Regions from separate parts of the Homo sapiens genome. Here all the other regions are linked to region 1. Evidence: promoter capture Hi-C in human tissues and cell types (Jung and others, 2019). All regions are on one chromosome and are shown on one strand. The core of a region is centred on a gene start or on the middle of the fragment in contact, and the rest is flanking DNA. Distances in the headings are between cores, read along the strand shown. Region 1 holds the start of TARS2 (threonyl-tRNA synthetase 2, mitochondrial). Region 2 overlaps HORMAD1 (HORMA domain containing 1). Region 3 overlaps GOLPH3L (golgi phosphoprotein 3 like).

Region 1 (3,415 bases), core at 794-3,293:
TATCAGGGAGAGGGAAGAGAAAGGATAAAGGAAGTTGAGAGCTGGGATAGGAATTAGAGGCAAAGGGCTTATGTAGGGAGCAGAGAGCTAAAATTCTAGTCAGGCACCTCTTTCTGAGGTGATGGGGGAGTATACTGGGAGCAAACTCTTCTAGAGAAAGCATGGTGTGGTAAAAGAAAACCAAGCTTGGATTCAGAAATCACCATCAGCACTTGCTGTTTGACCTTAAATTCCTCATCTGTCAGATTAAAAGGTCTCGGCCGGGCATGGTGGCTCACGCCTGTAATCCCAGCACTTTGGGAGGCTGAGGCAGGCGGATCACCTGATGCTGGGAGTTCGGGACCAGCCTGACCAACATGGAGAAACCCTGTCTCTACTAAAAATACAAAATTAGCTGGGCCTGGGGTGGCACATGCCTGTAATCCCAGCTACTCGGGAGGCTGAGGCAGGAGAAGCGCTTGAACCTGGGGAGGCGGAGGTTGCGGTAAGCCGAGATCACGCCACTGCACTCCAGCCTGGGCAACAAGAGTGAAACTCCATCTCAAAAAAAAAAAAAAAAGATTAAAAGGTCTATAAAGTCCCTATTAAGCACCATGAGTATAAAGGGACTCAAACTGACCTCTGCAGATTCTTGATTCCAGCTTTTTTGTTTTTGTTTTGTTTTGAGATGAAGTCTCGCTCTTGTCCCCCAGGCTGGAGTGCATGGCGTGATCTCGGCTCACTGCAACCTCCACCTCCCGGGTTCAAGCGATTCTCCTGTCTCAGCCTCCCAAGTAGCTGGGATTACAGGCGCCCACCACCATGCCCAGCTAATTTTTGTATTTTTAGTAGAGACGGGGTTTCACCATGTTGGCCAGGCTGGTCTAGAACTCCTGACCTCAGGTGATCCACCCGCCTCGGCCTCCCAAGTAGCTGGGATTACAGGCGCCCACCACCACGCCCAGCTAATTTTTGTATTTTTAGTAGAGACGGGGTTTCACCATGTTGGCCAGGCTGGTCTAGAACTCCTGACCTCAGGTGATCCACCTGCCTCGGCCTCCCAAAGTGCTGGGATTACAGCGTGAGCCACTGCGCGCGGCCATCTTTGCTCCAGCTTTAAAGTGGTTACTCCAGAGGCTGAGGTGGTCAGTTGAGCCCAGGAGGTCGAGACTGCAGTGAGCCATGATTGTACCCCTGCACTCCAGCCTGGGCAACGGTGAGACCTTGTCTCAAAATTAAAAAATAAAACTGTTACAGTCATTTATCATAATAGCTTCTTGTTGCTTTTGCCCATTACCAAAAAACCATGGGCCACACTAGACGATTTACATAAAATTTAACTCAACAATTGGGAGCAACACTATTCTCATTTTATAGTTGAGAAAATTGAGGCTTAGAGAAATTAAATAGGTCAGGCAAGGCGGCTCATGCCTGTAATTCCAGAACTCTGGGAGGCCGGAGCGCGGTGGCGGTTTGGTGGGGGGGAGGGGAGGGATTGCTTGAGGCCAGGAGTTCGAGACTACCCTGGCCAACATAGTGAGACCCGCCCCCCCCTCCCGCCCCCCCCGGTCTCTATTAAATAAATATGAGAAGTTTAATAATTTTCCCAAAATTACATAGTTAATGGCAGATCCAGAATTTACACTAGGTCTGTCTGGTTCCCCAGTCTATGCTCTTAAGTTTTGCTACTTGCTGTAAGGACCACGTAAAATAAAATGTATAGTTAAAGGGAAATTACTACCATTTCCTGTCTGGTTTTCTCCCACTCTCGCCCTCAAAAGTTCACCTGCCCTTGTCCTCAAAGCCACAGGACGCCTAATTGCTATTTTTGGGTTTCAGCTGAAACGCCACGGGTCTGGGGGAATAGCGAGGGTGTGTTACATTTTCGGTCTTCCGGTCAGCCGGAACCACTCACACCGCTGCTGGTGCTGTGTAGGGTGTACCTCTTCGGAGTTCCTGGAGGTGGTGCCAGACTAGAGTGGCAGCTGTAGTAACCAATAGACACGGACTTTGTTGGACCAGAAGCCAATGAAGAATTACGTGGAGGAGAAGCGGCGATAATCTGTTTGAGGATGTAGGCACTGGTGTGAAGGAACATGGCCCTGTATCAGAGGTGGCGGTGTCTCCGGCTCCAAGGTTTACAGGCTTGCAGGCTACACACGGTGCGTGAGGCACCCCCAAAGCTCCGATCCGCATCAGACTTAGCCCAGCCGAAGCCCCCAAATTTTTATGTTAACCCAGCCTCACGCCACTCCTCCTCTCCCTGGTCCTCCGAGTCCCCAGAAAAGGACTCGTATCTAAACTCGTTATCTAATTCTCGAGTTAGCGGTCTGGGGGACTCTGAGCTCGAAGGACCCCCAGCCTAGGGTCTTGTATCACCCAATCCCCTTAAAAAGTAGGAATTCGGACGAAGTCCACTTAACCATCCCAAAGTGCCATCATCTGCAATTCTAAGAAAGAATGATGGGACGTGTGTTACCTGCTAATATATCTTTCCCTCCAGGCAGTTGTGTCGACCCCTCCACGCTGGTTGGCAGAGCGGCTTGGCCTTTTTGAGGAGCTGTGGGCTGCTCAGGTAAAGAGATTAGCAAGCATGGCACAGAAGGAACCCCGGACTATTAAGATATCACTTCCTGGAGGCCAGAAAATTGATGCTGTGGCATGGAACACAACCCCCTACCAACTAGCCCGGCAGATCAGGTAACAGGCCCATCCTGTAACTACCAGGATTATCCTTCTGCCCCTTTACTTTCTCTTCACTTGAGCAGGGGAAGAAAACTTGGTCTGCTTGTTTCTGTTCCGTCCCCATTAAGATAGCCTTTCCTGAAGATTTTGTTTTTGTTTTTTGTTGTTGTTCTTTTATACAGACGGGGTCTCTCCATGTTGCCCAGGCTAGTCTTGAACTCCTGGGCTCAAGCGATCCTTCCATCTCAGCCTCCCGAAGTGCTGGGATTACAGGCATGAGCCACCAAACCCGGCCTGAGATTTGTTTTATCTGTATTAGTTTCTGCATCAGAGTCTCTGTCCTTTCATTGGGGAAAGAAATGAAAGCTTCTGTTGCTCTGGTAACTCATTTCACCTTTGCAAGTTTACAGTTGCTGAGAGATGAGCAACTTTCTCCCCACTGTGGATTGTAACCCTGTCTGTTTTAAATCATTAATTTACTTTTTAATAATTGATACATAATAATTGAACATATGAATGGGTATATGTGATATTTTGATATATGCATACAATATGTAATGATCAAATCAGGGTGTTCAGGATATCTGTTACCCCAAACATTTATCATTTCTTTGTGTTGGGACTATTTCAAATCTTCTAGCTATTTTGAAATATACAATAAATTATTATTAACTGTATTCACCCAACTCTGCTATGGAACATTAGAGCATATTCCTTCTGTCTAACTCTATTTTTGTACCCATTAGCCAAC
Region 2 (3,415 bases), core at 263-2,762, 230 kb after region 1:
ATTTTTGAACCCTAATAAGGAAATAATTTATTAAATTATTAGTATAAACAAGCTTGTAGAAGGCATGTGAAACTAATGAATAAACTATTTGAAAAGACTCTTTAATTCATTAACTTTTTTGTAAGTTAACACGTGTTATTAATACAAATAAGTGTTAAAAAAACTAGCTTGGAAAAATTTGTTTAGTGTTAATTCCATTATCTTTAAATGAGTTGATGATTAGTCTTTAAAATATTCAAATGTTTAGGCTTTTCAGTAATTCAGACTGACCTACACTCAAGTTAGTTCAAATGAATGTTTTACTACATCATAACTCCAGTTATATTTGTAGATCATAAACTGTAGAAAAAAAAGGATAAAGAGATTGCAAGACTTACATATTTTTTCTGTAAAGCATCATAACATCCTAGCATCCTAAAAAAAAAATCAAGGATTCATTTTTAGACTGAATGCATTTCCAGAAAATAGTTATTTTCATAAATTTCCATATTATCTCATTACTAAATAATACAAAAATGTCTTATTAAAGCTCCCTTCTTATTAACTAGCTTAAAACAAGACAAAACATAAAAAACAATGTGGCAGAAATGTAAAATGATGATAGAGATGGAAGGGAAAATACAAAATATCTGACAGCTATTTGTGGGGAACAATAATAAAATAAATAAAGCCTGCTTGCATGGGGCACAAAATAAAGAAACATTTATTTTTAAAATTTATTTTTCCAAATACCCAGACTTCAAGGAGAGGAAAACTTCGGTGGAAAATTTAATGACCTACAAAAATGCTATCTAGCATTAAAGGGTGATTCACTAAAATTTGGTTAAACACCAAAGGTATCCAAGGTACAAAAAAAAGTAAAATGAGAAAAAAATAATTTTCTCTCTTTAGGTATTCTTTTACTTGCCATTTCACTAACTGTGTAGATCCTGGGCAATTTTTATCTTCTCTCAGTATTTTGACACAAAGATCTAAACACAAAAATGATGAAATATAGAGTTACTTAAGAAAAGTAAACAACTAGAAATTTTAAATGAAGTTTATTTTCTTCTGCTGTGTATTACAGGTAAATTATTATTATAATTATTATTATTTTGAGACAGGGTCTCACTCTATCACCCAGGATGGAGTGCGGTGACATGATCTCGGCTCACTGGAACTTCTGCCTTCCGAGTTCAAGCCATTCTCCCACCTCAGCCTCCCCAGTAGCTGGGACTTCAGGTGCGCCACCATGACCGGCTAATTTTTGTATTTTTTGGTAGAGACAGGGTTTCCTCATGTTGGGCAGACTAGTCTCGAACTCCTGACCTCAGGTGACCCGCCTGCCTCAACCTCCCAAAGTGCTGGGATTACAGGCGTGAGCCACCTTGCCCAGCACAGGTAAATTATTAATAGCAATAATTAATATTATTAATGTAATTAAAGGAAGAAAGGTTATATGAAAGTAGTATTTTAATATTTATTATAAGATGCCATCATAATAATTAGGATGCAAGCTGATGGGTACAAAAATATTTCATAAAAAACTTATAGAATCCATGAAATTAGATATGTTGCTTTCATGCCATTGTTATACAAGAATCTTAGAATCTTATCCCAGTAAAATACTTGTAAAGGCCAAGAACTTAACGGGCTATCAAAAACAAAGAGGCCTGCAAAGAAGCAACATGTAACACAGTGGAAAAGACTGAGAGTCTCTCATATCCTCAGGTACCTTAATTGAAAAACAGGTATTTGTAAGACTGCTACATGAATTAACAAGATATCGTATATAACATAGTGCTTAACATATTGCCCAGCACATAACTGGTGTACAATATTATGCATGTATAATGTACTGAGAAATAAGTTATTATTGTAGTATAAACTGGCTGTATTATTATTATTATTTTAATTTAAAAAATAGAGATGGAGTCTCCTTATGTTGACCAGGCTGGTCTTGAATTCCTGGCCTCAAGTGATCCTCCTGCCTCAGCCTCCCAAAGTGCTGGGATTACAGACGTGAGCTTCCACGCCTGGCCCTGGCTGTATTATTTTTACTTCCTTAAAATAGCACAAGAACATACACTACTACTGTATGTTTTCTATTGATTTCTTTCATCATTATAAGCATAATTTCAGGTAAAATTATACTTGAGAAACTGAGGAAAAATTTTATGATTAAGTGCTTCTAAAGGTATTGAATATATATATATATGTATATATTTTAAAACCATTTAGTTATCCAAACAAAAACAAAAACTTGTACATCAGTGCGGCATTATTCATAATAGCCAAAAAGAGAACCCAAATGTTCATCAACTAATAAAGGGATAAATAAAATGTGGTACAGCCATGCAATAGAACATTATTCAGCAACAAAAAGGGATGAAGCACTGATCCATGCTACAATACGGAGGAACCTTGAAAACATGCTAAGTGAAAGCCAGTCACAAAGGACCACTTTTTTTTTTTTTTTTTTTTTTTTTTTTTTTGAGACTGAGTCTTGCTCTGTTGCCAGGCTGGAGTGCAGTGGCACAATCTCGGCTCACTGCAACCTCCGCCTCCCGGGTTCAAGCGATTCTCCTGCTCAGCCTCCCAAGTAGCTGGGACTACAGGCATGCACCACCATGCCCGGCTAATTTTTGTATTTTTAGTAGAGACGGGGTTTCACCATGTTGGCCAGGATGGTCTCCATCTCTTGACTTTGTGATCCGCCCGCCTCGGCCTCCCAAAGTGCTGGGATTACAGGCGTGAGCCACTGCACCCGGCCAGGACCACATTTTATATTATTTCATTTATATGAAATGTCCAGAGTAAGTAAATCTGTACAGACAGAAAGTAGATTGGTGATTGCCTAGGACTGGGAAGGTTGAGGGGAAGTGCACAGTGCCTTAAGGGGTATGGAGTTTCTTCTTGGGATGAAGAAATGTTCTAAAATTGACTGTGGTGATGGTTGTACAAATCTGTTAATTTATTAAAAATCATTGAAATGGGCCGGGCGCGGTGGCTCACGCCTGTAATCACACCACTTTGGGAGGCCGAGGCGGGCAGATCACAAGGTGAGGAAATCGAGACCATCCTGGCTAACACGGTGAAACCCCGTCTCTACTAAAAATACAAAAAATTAGCCGGGCGTGGTGGCGGGCGCCTGTAGTCCCAGCTACTCGTGAGGCTGAAGCAGGAGAATGGCGTGAACCCAGGAGGTGGAGCTTGCAGTGAGCGGAGATGGCACCACTGCACTCCAGCCCGGGCGAGACCCCGTCTCAAAAAAAAAAAAAAAAAAAATCATTGAAATGTACACTTTAAACAAGTGAACTGTCAGGTACGTGAATTGTATTAATAAAGCTTCTATTAAAATAAAATTTCTAAGTCAAAAATTATAGTTTTGGAGCAAGCAAAAATAAAAATACCATTTTAAAAGAAAGCTTTAAAA
Region 3 (3,415 bases), core at 255-2,754, 170 kb after region 1:
ACACTATATTTCTGTGTGTGTGTGTCTTTAATTCCTCTAGCGCCACTGGGTTAGGGTCTCCACAACTGAGCTGGTCTCGGCAAGATTAATATCCAGAATATATATAAAGAACCTCTGGCCAGGCACAGTGGCTCATGCCTGTAATCCCAGCATTTTGGGAGACCAAGATGGGTAGACTGTCTGAGCTCAGGAGTTCAGAGACCAGCCTGGGTGACATAGCAAAACCCCATCTCCACCAAAAACACAAAAAATTAGCCAGGTGTGATGGTGCGCACCCATAGTCCCAGTTACTTGGGAGGCTGAGGTGGGAGGATCCTTGAGCCCGGGAGATAGAGGTTGCAGTGAGCCGAGATTGCACCACGGCACTCCATCCTGGGTGACAGAGTGAGACCGCATCTCATAAATAAATACAAAAAAACCTCAACAACAACAAAACAATCAAACTTAAAAATGGGAAAAGTATTTTATATTTCTCCAAAGAAGATATATAAATGGTCAGTAAGCACATAAAAATATGCTCAATATTTTTAGTCATTAGGAATGACATGAAAACTATTTTCATTTGAAAATAAAAATCAAAACCACAATGAGATAACATTTTAGGCCTACTCGGATGTCTATAATTAAAAAAAAGAAAAGAAAGAGAAGAACAAGTGGTGATCAGCATGTGGACAAATTGGAACCCTGGTGCATACTGGTGGGAATATAAAATGGTGCAGTCTCTGTGGAAATGTTTGGTGATTTCTCAAAAGGTTAAACATAAAACTGCTATATGACCCAGCAATTCTATTCCTAGGTATATATCCAAAAGAATTAAAAACAGGAACTTGAACAGATATTTGTGTATCAATGTTCACAGCAGCATTATTCACAATAGCCAAAAGGTGGAAACAAGGCAAGTGTCCATCAACAGATGAATGGTTAAACGAAAGTGTTATATACATACAACGGAATATCACTCAGCCATAAACAGGAATGAAATTTTGATATATGCTGTGACATGAATGGACCTTGAAAACATTATGCTTGGTGAATAAGCTAGGGAAAGTAATGACAGATATTGTATGATTCTACTTATATGAGGTACCTAGAGTAAGCAAATTCATAGAAAAAGAAAGTAGAATAGAGGTTGCCAGGGACTGGGGGGAGAGAGAAAGAGGAAGTTATCATTTAATAGGTACAGAGTTTTAATGGGTAATGATGAGGAAGCTTTGGGTATAGTATAGATAGAGGTGACGGTTACAAAATATTGCAAATATATTTAATTTCACAGAATTGTACACTTAAGAATGGCTAAAATAATAATAAATGTTGGCTGGGCGCGGTGGCTCACGCCTGTAATCCCAGCACTTTGGGAGGCCAAGGCGGGCAGATCACGAAGTCAAGAGTTCGAGACAAGCCTGGCCAATATGGTGAAACCCTGTCTCTACTAAGAATACAAAAATTAGCCAGGCGTGGTGGCACGTGCCTGTAATCCCAGCTACTTGGGAGGCTGAGGCAGGAGAATTGCTTGAACCCGGGAGGCAGAGGTTGCAGTGAGCTGAGATTGCATCACTGTACTCCAGCCTGGACGACAGAGCAAGACTCCATCTCGAAATAATAATAATAATAATAAATGTTATGTATATTTTACCACAGTAAGAATGTTACTCGTTGATTTACATATGACCCAGTTATCTACTCCTAGCTACATACCCACAAGAAATGAAAACATGTTCAAACAAAAACTTGTCCGTGCGTGTTCACAGCAGCATTATTCACAATACCCAAAATGTGGAAATAACTCAAAGATTCATCAACTGATGACTGGATAAACAAATGTGGTATGGCCATGCAATAAAATATTATTTGGCAAATTAAAACTGGGAAATTCTAATAAGAATAATAGACTGCATCAATGCCAATATTCTCATTGTCCTCTCAATAAAGATGTTTTAAAAGTTTCTTGTGAAGAATACTATTTAAGGGCTTTTGGGGTGGGGTGGCAGAAGATAAGGTGAAGCTTTGGAAAACTTTAGGTATCAATTAACCATGCTTTTTCTGTCCCTCATTAGAATTAAATAGTGAACCACATCTATCTCATCCAGCACGATGAATTTCGGTACATCTTTTACTAAATTTCAGGGTAGGATAAAGATAACAAAGTGTGAAATTCATATATTATTTTAAGTCATCTTACCAGTGAGTAGCTCTATCCATGTTTGGACAGTTTCTGTGGGTTCAGTTGCTTTGATGTGTTTCAGAGTTTCATCCAGTAAAACATCACCTGTTGGGCTGTCTGACTTTAGCAGTACCTTTGAGAAAAGGAGAAAGAAGGAACCCTGATTCCTTCACTTCATTCAAGTTAAAATCTTTCAATATATCATGTATATGTTACTGGTTAAAAATTGCAAGAATGTAAGGAAGCATAATATACTGTCTCTGTCCTCAAGAAGTTTAAAATATAGTATGGAGTGATAGTGCAAAGACAAAAATAACATTTGAAGTGGGCCCTAGTGACAAACTGGATATGAATGATAATGGAGAAAAGTTTCAATAACAACTCATTTTGAGTCTGGAAACCAACTTTTGAAACCATTAATAAAGGTAGGAAACAGCTGGGCTCAGTGGCTCATGCCTGTAATCTTAGCACTTTGGGAGGCTGAGGCGGGTGGATCACCTGAGCTCAGGAGTTTGAGACCAGCCTGGGCAAAATGGCAAAATCTTTTCTCTATTAAAAAAATAAAAATTTAAATAAATAAATAAATAAATAAACAAAGGCAGGAAAGTCAGAAAAGGAAGTCAGTTTTGGGGAAAGGTTGATAATTTGGTTTTCTTTCATTTTTGTTAAGTTTGGTTTTAAATGATATGGGATAGCCAAGTTGAAATTTCTAGCCAATAGTTAAATATGTTTCTGGAGGTGGAAAAACAAGACCTGCCTAGAAATTTGAAAATTAATCTCATGAAGGTGACAGACGAAGCTATAAAGGTAAATGATATCTCTGAAAGGACAGAAGATCACTCAAGTGATACAAACTGAGACTTGGATGTTAAGAAATGGAGAAGTAAGGAAACAGTGTATAGTCAGAGAAGCAAGAGAATAAGATAATAACAAAGGCCAATAATGAAGAAAGTTTCAAAGTGATAAAAAGTGTCAAATGACACATATAGGTTAAAAGAGAAAAATAAATCAAAGACTGAAAAGAAGCTGGTGATACCTAAGAATGTAGTTTAAGTGGAGTGCTTAGGATGATAAAGAAGTTGTGAGTGGAAAAATTCAGTAAGAAAATGGATACAGGAGTATGGTTGGAAAGGACTTGCAGTAAATGGAAGGAAACAGAATATTATTGGAGAATAACCAGGGTTAATCAATGACTGACCTGACCCATATGAGTCCCTCTCCCTACATCATACTCTATTTCGTAATTTTTTTTTT

The links. Contacts are between HindIII fragments. The study calls those that stand out against the background at their distance.
Region 2: a contact is called between a fragment that was not itself captured here and the fragment with the promoter of TARS2 in region 1, in 2 of the 25 tissues and cell types used here (H1 embryonic stem cells and dorsolateral prefrontal cortex).
Region 3: a contact is called between a fragment that was not itself captured here and the fragment with the promoter of TARS2 in region 1, in 1 of the 25 tissues and cell types used here (spleen).

The regions. Positions count from the first base shown.
Region 1 is chr1:150,485,376-150,488,790 of GRCh38, forward strand. TARS2 (threonyl-tRNA synthetase 2, mitochondrial) reads left to right here and starts at 2,044. Exons shown (of 18, transcript NM_025150.5): 1 at 2,044-2,141; 2 at 2,483-2,679. The coding sequence starts at 2,076. RefSeq lists enhancers at 1,869-2,375, 1,869-2,138. The HindIII fragment of the contact is 6,321 bases long and covers 1-3,415 here.
Region 2 is chr1:150,713,708-150,717,122 of GRCh38, forward strand. It overlaps HORMAD1 (HORMA domain containing 1), which reads right to left. Exons shown (of 15, transcript NM_032132.5): 4 at 908-971; 5 at 378-414. Among named protein-coding and RNA genes, the nearest start is that of HORMAD1, 5.5 kb to the right of the region's middle. The HindIII fragment of the contact is 6,232 bases long and covers 1-3,415 here.
Region 3 is chr1:150,659,635-150,663,049 of GRCh38, forward strand. GOLPH3L (golgi phosphoprotein 3 like) reads right to left here. Exons shown (of 5, transcript NM_018178.6): 4 at 2,180-2,294. Among named protein-coding and RNA genes, the nearest start is that of ENSA, 32 kb to the left of the region's middle. The HindIII fragment of the contact is 4,476 bases long and covers 1-3,415 here.